2 separate regions of the Homo sapiens genome follow, and region 2 is linked to region 1. The links are contacts of gene promoters, found by promoter capture Hi-C in human tissues and cell types (Jung and others, 2019). All regions are on one chromosome and are shown on one strand. The core of a region is centred on a gene start or on the middle of the fragment in contact, and the rest is flanking DNA. Distances in the headings are between cores, read along the strand shown.

Region 1 (3,659 bases), core at 843-3,342:
TCTAATCCTTGGTACCCATACAAAGTCACTAAAATCTAGAAAAGTAATGTTTTTTTAAAAAATTGCACCCAGAATAAGGGAGAAAAACGTCTTTTTAAGTTCTATAATCCCAGGTTATCAGTTGGCTTGCAACTCATGGAGAAATAGAAACCACAGCTGCTTAGTCAGAGTGTACTTTATCTTATACAATGCATGACACCTAAATTAAATAGGAAGCAGCACCTTGTTAAAACCATAGCATTTTAAAATGTGAAACTGAGTTTTACAATTGTCAAACTATATGCTCAAACTGACACAGCTGGGATGAAAAACCTGCTCTTTCCCTTTCACCGAACTGCCTGAGTGGGGCAGTAAAATTAAAAAGAAAAAACTTGGCCAGGCACGGTGGCTCACGCCTGTAATCCCAGCACTTTGGGAGGCCGAGGCGGGCGGATCACGAGGTCAGGAGATCGAGACCATCCTGGCTAACACGGTGAAACCCCGTTTCTAGTAAAAATACAAAATATTAGCCCGGCATGGTGGCGGGCGCTGTAGTCCCAGCTGTGCGGGAGGCTGAGGCAGGAGAATGGCGAGAACCCGGGAGGCGGAGCTTGCAGTGAGCTGAGATCGCGCCACTGCACTCCAGCCTGGGCGAGGCAGACCCCGTCTCAAAAAAAAAAAAAAAAAAGAAAAAGAAAAAACTACAGCCTGGCCGCGGTGATTCACACTTGTAATCCCAGCACTTTGGGAGGCCGCGCGCGGGGCGGAGGCCGGCTGGAGGGGAGGTAGCTAACTTGAGGCCAGGAGTTTGAGGCCAGCCTGGCCCACATAAGCAAAACCCCGTCTCTACTAAAAATATAAACATTAGCCGCGAGCGGTGGCTGCAAGTCTGTAATCACAGCTACTCGGGAGGCTAAGGGGGAAGGATCGCTTGATCCCGAGAGGCAGAGATTGCGGTGGGCAGAGATCGCGCCACTACACTCCAGCCTGGGCACACAGCGACTGTCTCAAAAAGGAAAAAAGGAAAAAAAAAGACAGAAAAGAAAAGAAAAAACTACAGAATAGGTCCCAGTCTGCAACCCTAACTGAAAAATATTAACAAATCCTTGCAGTAAGTGACCGAGCCTGTTGGCACCAGCCTGTAGTCCCAGCTACTTGGGAGACTGAGGTGGAAGGATCGCTAGAGCACAGGAGGGGAAGGTTGCAATGAGCCGGGATAGCGCCACTGCACTCCAGTCTGGGTGACAGAGCGAGACTCTGTCTTAAAAACAAAAACCAAAAAAACCCCAAATCCTTTAAGTGCGCTATAATGGTTAAGACTATGGGCTCTGATGCCCCACTGCCTGAGCCCCTAACTCCCTCAGTCAGCATAGCTGTGCGACCTTGGCAAAAAAGTTTCTCTACGGCTGTTTCCTCACCTGTAAAATGGGGGCAGTAATAGAAATCATCCAAACCCTTCATCGTACAGGTAAGAAAGCAGAGGCATCCAACGACTATTATTATAATCATGCTTTCATGGCAGTGGTACTTTCACGAGGTGTCTCGATTCCCTGAACAGGACTCTTTCCACTTAGGACCACATGGAGCGGTGAGGAAAAACACCCCGAGAACCACCTAGTGCTAGAGAGTGAATTAGTGACTTTCACATCCACTGGGGTCATCCAACCCTCCCTACAATCCCGAGAAATATGACCTCCACTTTAAGGATGCAAAAATAGAAAAGGAGGGATTGCAAGACTGCTTAAAGACCATGCAACTATAAAGCGATAGAACGGGAACTCGAACTCAGGTTAGATCGGCCCCACTTGACCAGACAGCCTCAGGGGCCGTGCACGGCAGTGTCCCCTATTTTTCTCTCCCTCCCCCGACGGCCAAAAATGGGGCTGCTGTCTCCGCCACCCTCTTCCCTCCAGTCACTTTCCCGGTTCTTCTCCCACTGACCCAGGTAAATCACAAGAGGGATAAAGCCCCAGCGAATGGCAAACTGGCTCCCCTTGAAGAGCTGCTGTAGTCTCTGCTTGGCCTCTTTGCTCAGCTTCACCATGGCGACGGCCGTGTGGCGCAGGGAGGACCCCTTACAGCAACCACAGCGTCGGGAATCCGAAAGGGAAAGGAGGTGCGCAGGCGCCACACACGGCCTTTACGGCAGGAGTCGTGAGCGTCGCCAGCAGAGGTCGTAATTCATCGCCTTTAACCTTCCCTGCTCTTCCGCCTCGCCGGCAGTAGTAGGCGCATGCGTGGTTGCGATCATGGCTGGCGGTAACTTCGCGTTTCTGTTACCCATTTTTAAAACGCATCTTCAGGTGTTCCTTCCTTCTCATGGAAGGAACATTAATTAAATTCAGAGGGACTGGGTTTTAGTCCTAACTCTTATTCCTACTGGCTGTGTAACCGTGGACAAATTATTTAACTTCTCAGAATCAGGTTGTTCAAACCTGAGGTTGAACTGCAAAAAGGTTACGAAGTGACACTCAGTAGGGCCCGAATCCATGTTTTCTTTGATCCCAATCTTTTTTAAAAAAATTTCTTTTAATTACTTGCCAACATTTTAGAATTTGGAAATCTCACATGAAATTCTGGACTTTTGAAGCTGAGGAATTCCATTGCAACAATCAAGGAGACTAAATAGGAAATGACACTTCTGTTTGGCCATCTTGCCCTCATTGGTTTAGAATGGCAGTGGTTCTCAACCCTGGCTGCACATTAGAATCACTTTAGGAGAGGTAAAACCATACTCACGCTGGAGACCTACTCCTAGAAATTCTAAAGAGTTTGGGGCTGGGAACTGGCCATTGATCTGCCTTTGAAGTTTCCCAAGTGATTCCCAACCTCTGATGTAATAAATTTCTGGCTGCTGTCGTATTTGAGATTTGACCCCCCCAGGTCTAAGACTTAATTGATTTTTAAGGCTGTAAGACATTTCTAAGACTTTGACTTTTAAGACTTTCCTGCCTCATTCTGAAGGTACGTAGTCGTTTTCTGTGCCCAATGTCTGTGCTCCTAAAAATTTCCCCTTGCTGACCTCTGTGGCTTGCGCCTGTAATTCTGGCTATTTGGGAGGCTGAGGCGGGAGGACCACTTGAGTTTGATGCTGCAGTGAGCTGTGATTGGGTCACTTGCTGTAAGCTCCCAAAGGGTTCACTTTGCCCGCTGCCTGGACAGAGCCGATTGATCAACACTGGGGAATTACAATAAAGAGTAATTCACGCAGAGCTGGCTGTGCAGGAGACCAGAGTTTTATTATTACTCAAATCAGTATCCCATAGCATTCGGGGATCAGAGTTTTTAAGGACAATTTGGTGCGTGGGGAGACAGCCAGTAAGTCGGAAGTGCTGATTGGTTGGGTCAGAGATGAAATCACAGGGAGTGGAAGCTGTCTTGTACTGCCTCAGTTCCTGGGTCGGGGCCACAAGATCAGATGAGCCAGTTTGCCGATCTGGGTGGTGCCAGCTGATCCATTTTGCAGGCTCTGCAAAGTATCTCAAGCACTGATGTTAGGCTTTACAATAGTGTTATTCCCAGGAGCAATTTGGGAAGGGTCAGAATCTTAGTTCCTGGGTTGGGACCACAAGATCAGATGAGCCAGTTTACCTATCTGGGTGGTTCCAGCTGATCCATTTTGCAGGGTCTGCAAAATATCTCAAACACTGATGTTAGGCTTTACAATAGAGTTGTTATCC
Region 2 (3,659 bases), core at 437-2,936, 300 kb after region 1:
TACTTGGATAAGATCAACCTTTTTAGCTTACACATATGAGTGAGAACATGTAGCATTTAACTTTCTGTTCCTAGCTTATTTCAACTAACATAATGTCTTCCAGTTCCATCCACATTGCCGTGAAAGACAAGATTTCATTCTTTGCTATGGCTGAATATTATTCCATGGTGTATATATACCATATTTTCTTTATCAATTCGTCTATCACTGGACACCTAGGTTGACTCTATATCTTGGCTGTTGTGCATAGTGCTGCAGTAAACATGGGGGTGCAGATGTCTCTTTGTTATAATGATATCACTGGAGTACAGTGATGCAATCACAACTCACTGCAACCTCCACCTCTGGGGCTCAAGTGATCCTCTTACCTCAGCACCACCCCCACCTCCAGTCACTGGGACTACAGACACACACCACCACGCCTGGCTAATTTTTGTATTTTTTTTTTGTAGAGACAGAGTTTCATCATGTTGCCCCGGCTGGTCTCGAATTCCTAGGCTCAAGCAATCCACCTGCCTTGGCCTCCCAAAAATGCTAGGATTGGAGGTGTGAGCGACCACACCGAGCCCCCATTTCTTGTCTGTGGATATACCTTTCTTTAGCTTATTAATAACAGGAGGGGCCTTTCACTATAGGTCAGTCCCATCCTTTTTTTTTTTTTTTTAGTTGAGATAGAGTCTCGCTCTGTTGCCCAGGCTGGAGTGCAGTGGCTCGATCTCAGCTCACTGCAAGCTCCGCCTCCTGGGTTCATGCCGTTCTCCTGCCTCAGTCTCCCAAGTAGCTGGGACTACAGGTGCCCACCACCACACCTGGCTAATTTTTTGTATTTTTAGTAGAGGCGGGATTTCACTGTGTTAGCCAGGATGGTCTCAATCTGCTGACCTTGTGATCCGCCCGCCTCAGCCTCCCAAGGTGCTGGGATTACAGGCATGAGTCGCTGCACCCGGCAGTCCCATCTCTTATTGGAAATTATCAGTCTATTGTAGTATAGGCAAATAAATGTACCATTTGGATACAAAAGACTCTTCCTACTTATTTTCCCCACCCCTCCAACCATTAATATCCAGCTGGACATTAATCTTAGACTAAAACTCAGTTGCTGTACAAAGATCTACATTTCTTCAACCTCCTTCAGTGCCTATAAAGTCATTCTACTTATAAACTCTGTTGTTGAGTATGCCTTGGAGATGTTTTTGCTGTATTTTGGTTTAACCCTATGTTTCATAGAAGTTCCATCACTGGCCATAGATTTCTCCCCATGATCTGATATAATCTGATTTGCTTGATGCTTTATCATCTTTATTCTTCACTCCCCACCCCTTTCTCCCTCTCCTTCTCTCCCTCCTTTGACCTCCAAGGCAACTTGATCACTTGTTTTTTGGTGGTAACCAAATAGTTAACTTGGTTATGCTACTTGGTATTTTTTGGTATAGTATGTAGCAAAAACACCTGAGAGATCTGCCTCTGTACCCCCTCCCCAAATGAAATAAAATTTAAAAATTCAAGACACTATGAGAATAAAAATAGCTTTAGTTATAAACCTGCATATAAGTTTTAAGCAATAGTCAATACTAGGCCTTATTTGAAAATCTTCAAATAAGCTGTAAAAGTGAAATTTTGTTCATTTCCTAGCCTGCTATTTGAGGCTTATTTTCTCTCTCATTCTAAACATTATTATTTTATTTTATCTTCACAAAATAATACAATAACAGATTTATCTATCAGAAACTATATTAACAGTTTTAGTAAAATACTTAAAATTTGCAAAATGCAAATCCTCTGAGCCATGAAGCCAATCTTAGATTTGTAAGCGATATTTTTTTTACTCTGAATATATTATTTGCCTCATATTCCCAGTGCCTAGGACAGTCTTTAATACATTGTATACACCAAGTTTTCTGTAAGCCTAATCTCTATATTTTGTCTTTAACTTCGTTAAGAAATTAAGATTTTATTTGGCAAAAAGGACATTTATTTTTCTTGATATTCATTTATAAGTGTTCTAGTAAGCCTTAAATTTTTTCTTTATTATTCCGTTTTCCCCACATTTTAATTAAGTATTACTCAGAGCTGCCTTCTTTAAGCAGCTTATGGTGATACTATTTTGACGTTGGTCAGAAATCAGAATTTAAAACTGGCTGCTATCCAGCTTCTATCAGAAGTGCATTTGAGAGAAGTGTTATTTAATAAAAGATTGCTGAAAGGACATTTAGTTCATCTCCTCTCTGTATTCTGAGCTGTTTCTGTTTCAAGTTAGATCTGTGAATGCTACTTTCTTAGGAAATGCAGTGTATGTTCTCAATTTCATCAAGGATAAATAATGGAAAATAAATCATATAAAAACTAATTGCTGTGTTTGAAAAACTGTCAGGGTGTCAGGGGCACTGCCATGATGTCATTGAATTTCCCCCAGAAAAGCTTACCATGAGAAATGTCCTAGAATCTGTGTCAGAAAAAAAAAAAAAAAAAGACTTCTCTGAAGGGTTAGTAGACTTGTTTCTGATTATGAGGAACTTTTTCTTTCCTCTTGACTGTTGGAAAACTCAGTGCAAAATTTTTATACTACATGGCAGCGACTCTGTAAGTCCTTTCTAAATATGTCTTCAAAAGAAATTCTGCGCTGGAAAAAGATTGGCTTTAAATAGAAAATAGAGATAAAGCATTTGGCAAGCACCTTTTTAACATGTATTGCCAAGCTAGGCTAGTGAGCCTCTTTTTATTTTATGTATTTTTCCTTTGATTAGAAAACGTTGTGTGACGTGATCCTCATGGTCCAGGAAAGAAAGATACCTGCTCATCGTGTTGTTCTTGCTGCAGCCAGTCATTTTTTTAACTTAATGTTCACAAGTAAGTATCTTAAGGTAAAACATGCCATTATTTCTTCTATGAGAATGAAGTAAAATCTAAAAGAGAATATGTCATTTTTCTAATTTTTAAAGCAGTTAAGAACTTAAGGCCACAGAACAGTGAAGAGATTGAAAAAGTAGTCAGCTGATAACCAAAGGAAAAAATGTCCTTTCATTAGACCTAAAGGCCTGATGCCTTTATTGATGGAGGTACAGCTTCTACTTAAAAGCCCAGGGTTGAGGTGGAGGTTGCAGTGAGCCGAGATTGCACCACTGCACTCCATCCTGGGCGTCAGAGCGAGACTCTGTCTCAAAAAAAAAAAAAAAAAAAAAAAAAAAAAAAAGCCCAGGGTTTTCTTTTTAACCTTAGGTGGAAAGACAAAGAAGCAGATAAATTTCATAATATTTTAGCCGGCAAGTTAAACTTTAAAAAAAAAATAGCTGTAGCATATTGTGCCAGAAAGAACCCTGGATTTGGTGTTCAGAACTGGGTCCAAGTCCTACTTCCTCTACTTAGTACTATTTTATGAGCTTGGGAAAAAAACAAAATCTAGTTTTATGTTTCTGTTAATATGGTCTTAAAAAGAAGTACACTAATTCACTCTTTTCTTAGCTTAATTTAAGGCACATCTTGGGTGGAGAATTAATTTGCATTGACTATAGAAATGTTGGGCTTGCTGGGGCATTTTCTTCCAGAGAGAACTGTCCCGTTATTTTTCTGCATATTTAACATGGCCTGGAATGCCGTGGTTCCTCAGTCAAACTTGTGGTAGTACAGATGCCATTTATGTTTCTTCTCTTCATTGTAGCTAA

What was found. Contacts are between HindIII fragments. The study calls those that stand out against the background at their distance.
Region 2: a fragment that was not itself captured here is called in contact with the fragment with the promoter of TOMM7 in region 1 in 1 of the 25 tissues and cell types used here (lymphoblastoid cells).

The regions. Positions count from the first base shown.
Region 1 is chr7:22,820,757-22,824,415 of GRCh38, forward strand. TOMM7 (translocase of outer mitochondrial membrane 7) reads right to left here and starts at 2,093. Exons shown (of 3, transcript NM_019059.5): 1 at 1,921-2,093. The coding sequence starts at 2,023. It overlaps LOC112267993 (a long non-coding RNA gene), which reads left to right and starts at 2,201. Exons shown (of 3, transcript XR_002956543.2): 1 at 2,201-2,943. RefSeq lists enhancers at 1,574-2,334, 2,004-2,083, 2,114-2,323. The HindIII fragment of the contact is 34,135 bases long and covers 1-3,659 here.
Region 2 is chr7:23,121,033-23,124,691 of GRCh38, forward strand. KLHL7 (kelch like family member 7) reads left to right here. Exons shown (of 11, transcript NM_001031710.3): 2 at 2,745-2,847; 3 at 3,656-3,659. Among named protein-coding and RNA genes, the nearest start is that of KLHL7, 17 kb to the left of the region's middle. The HindIII fragment of the contact is 3,372 bases long and covers 1-3,372 here.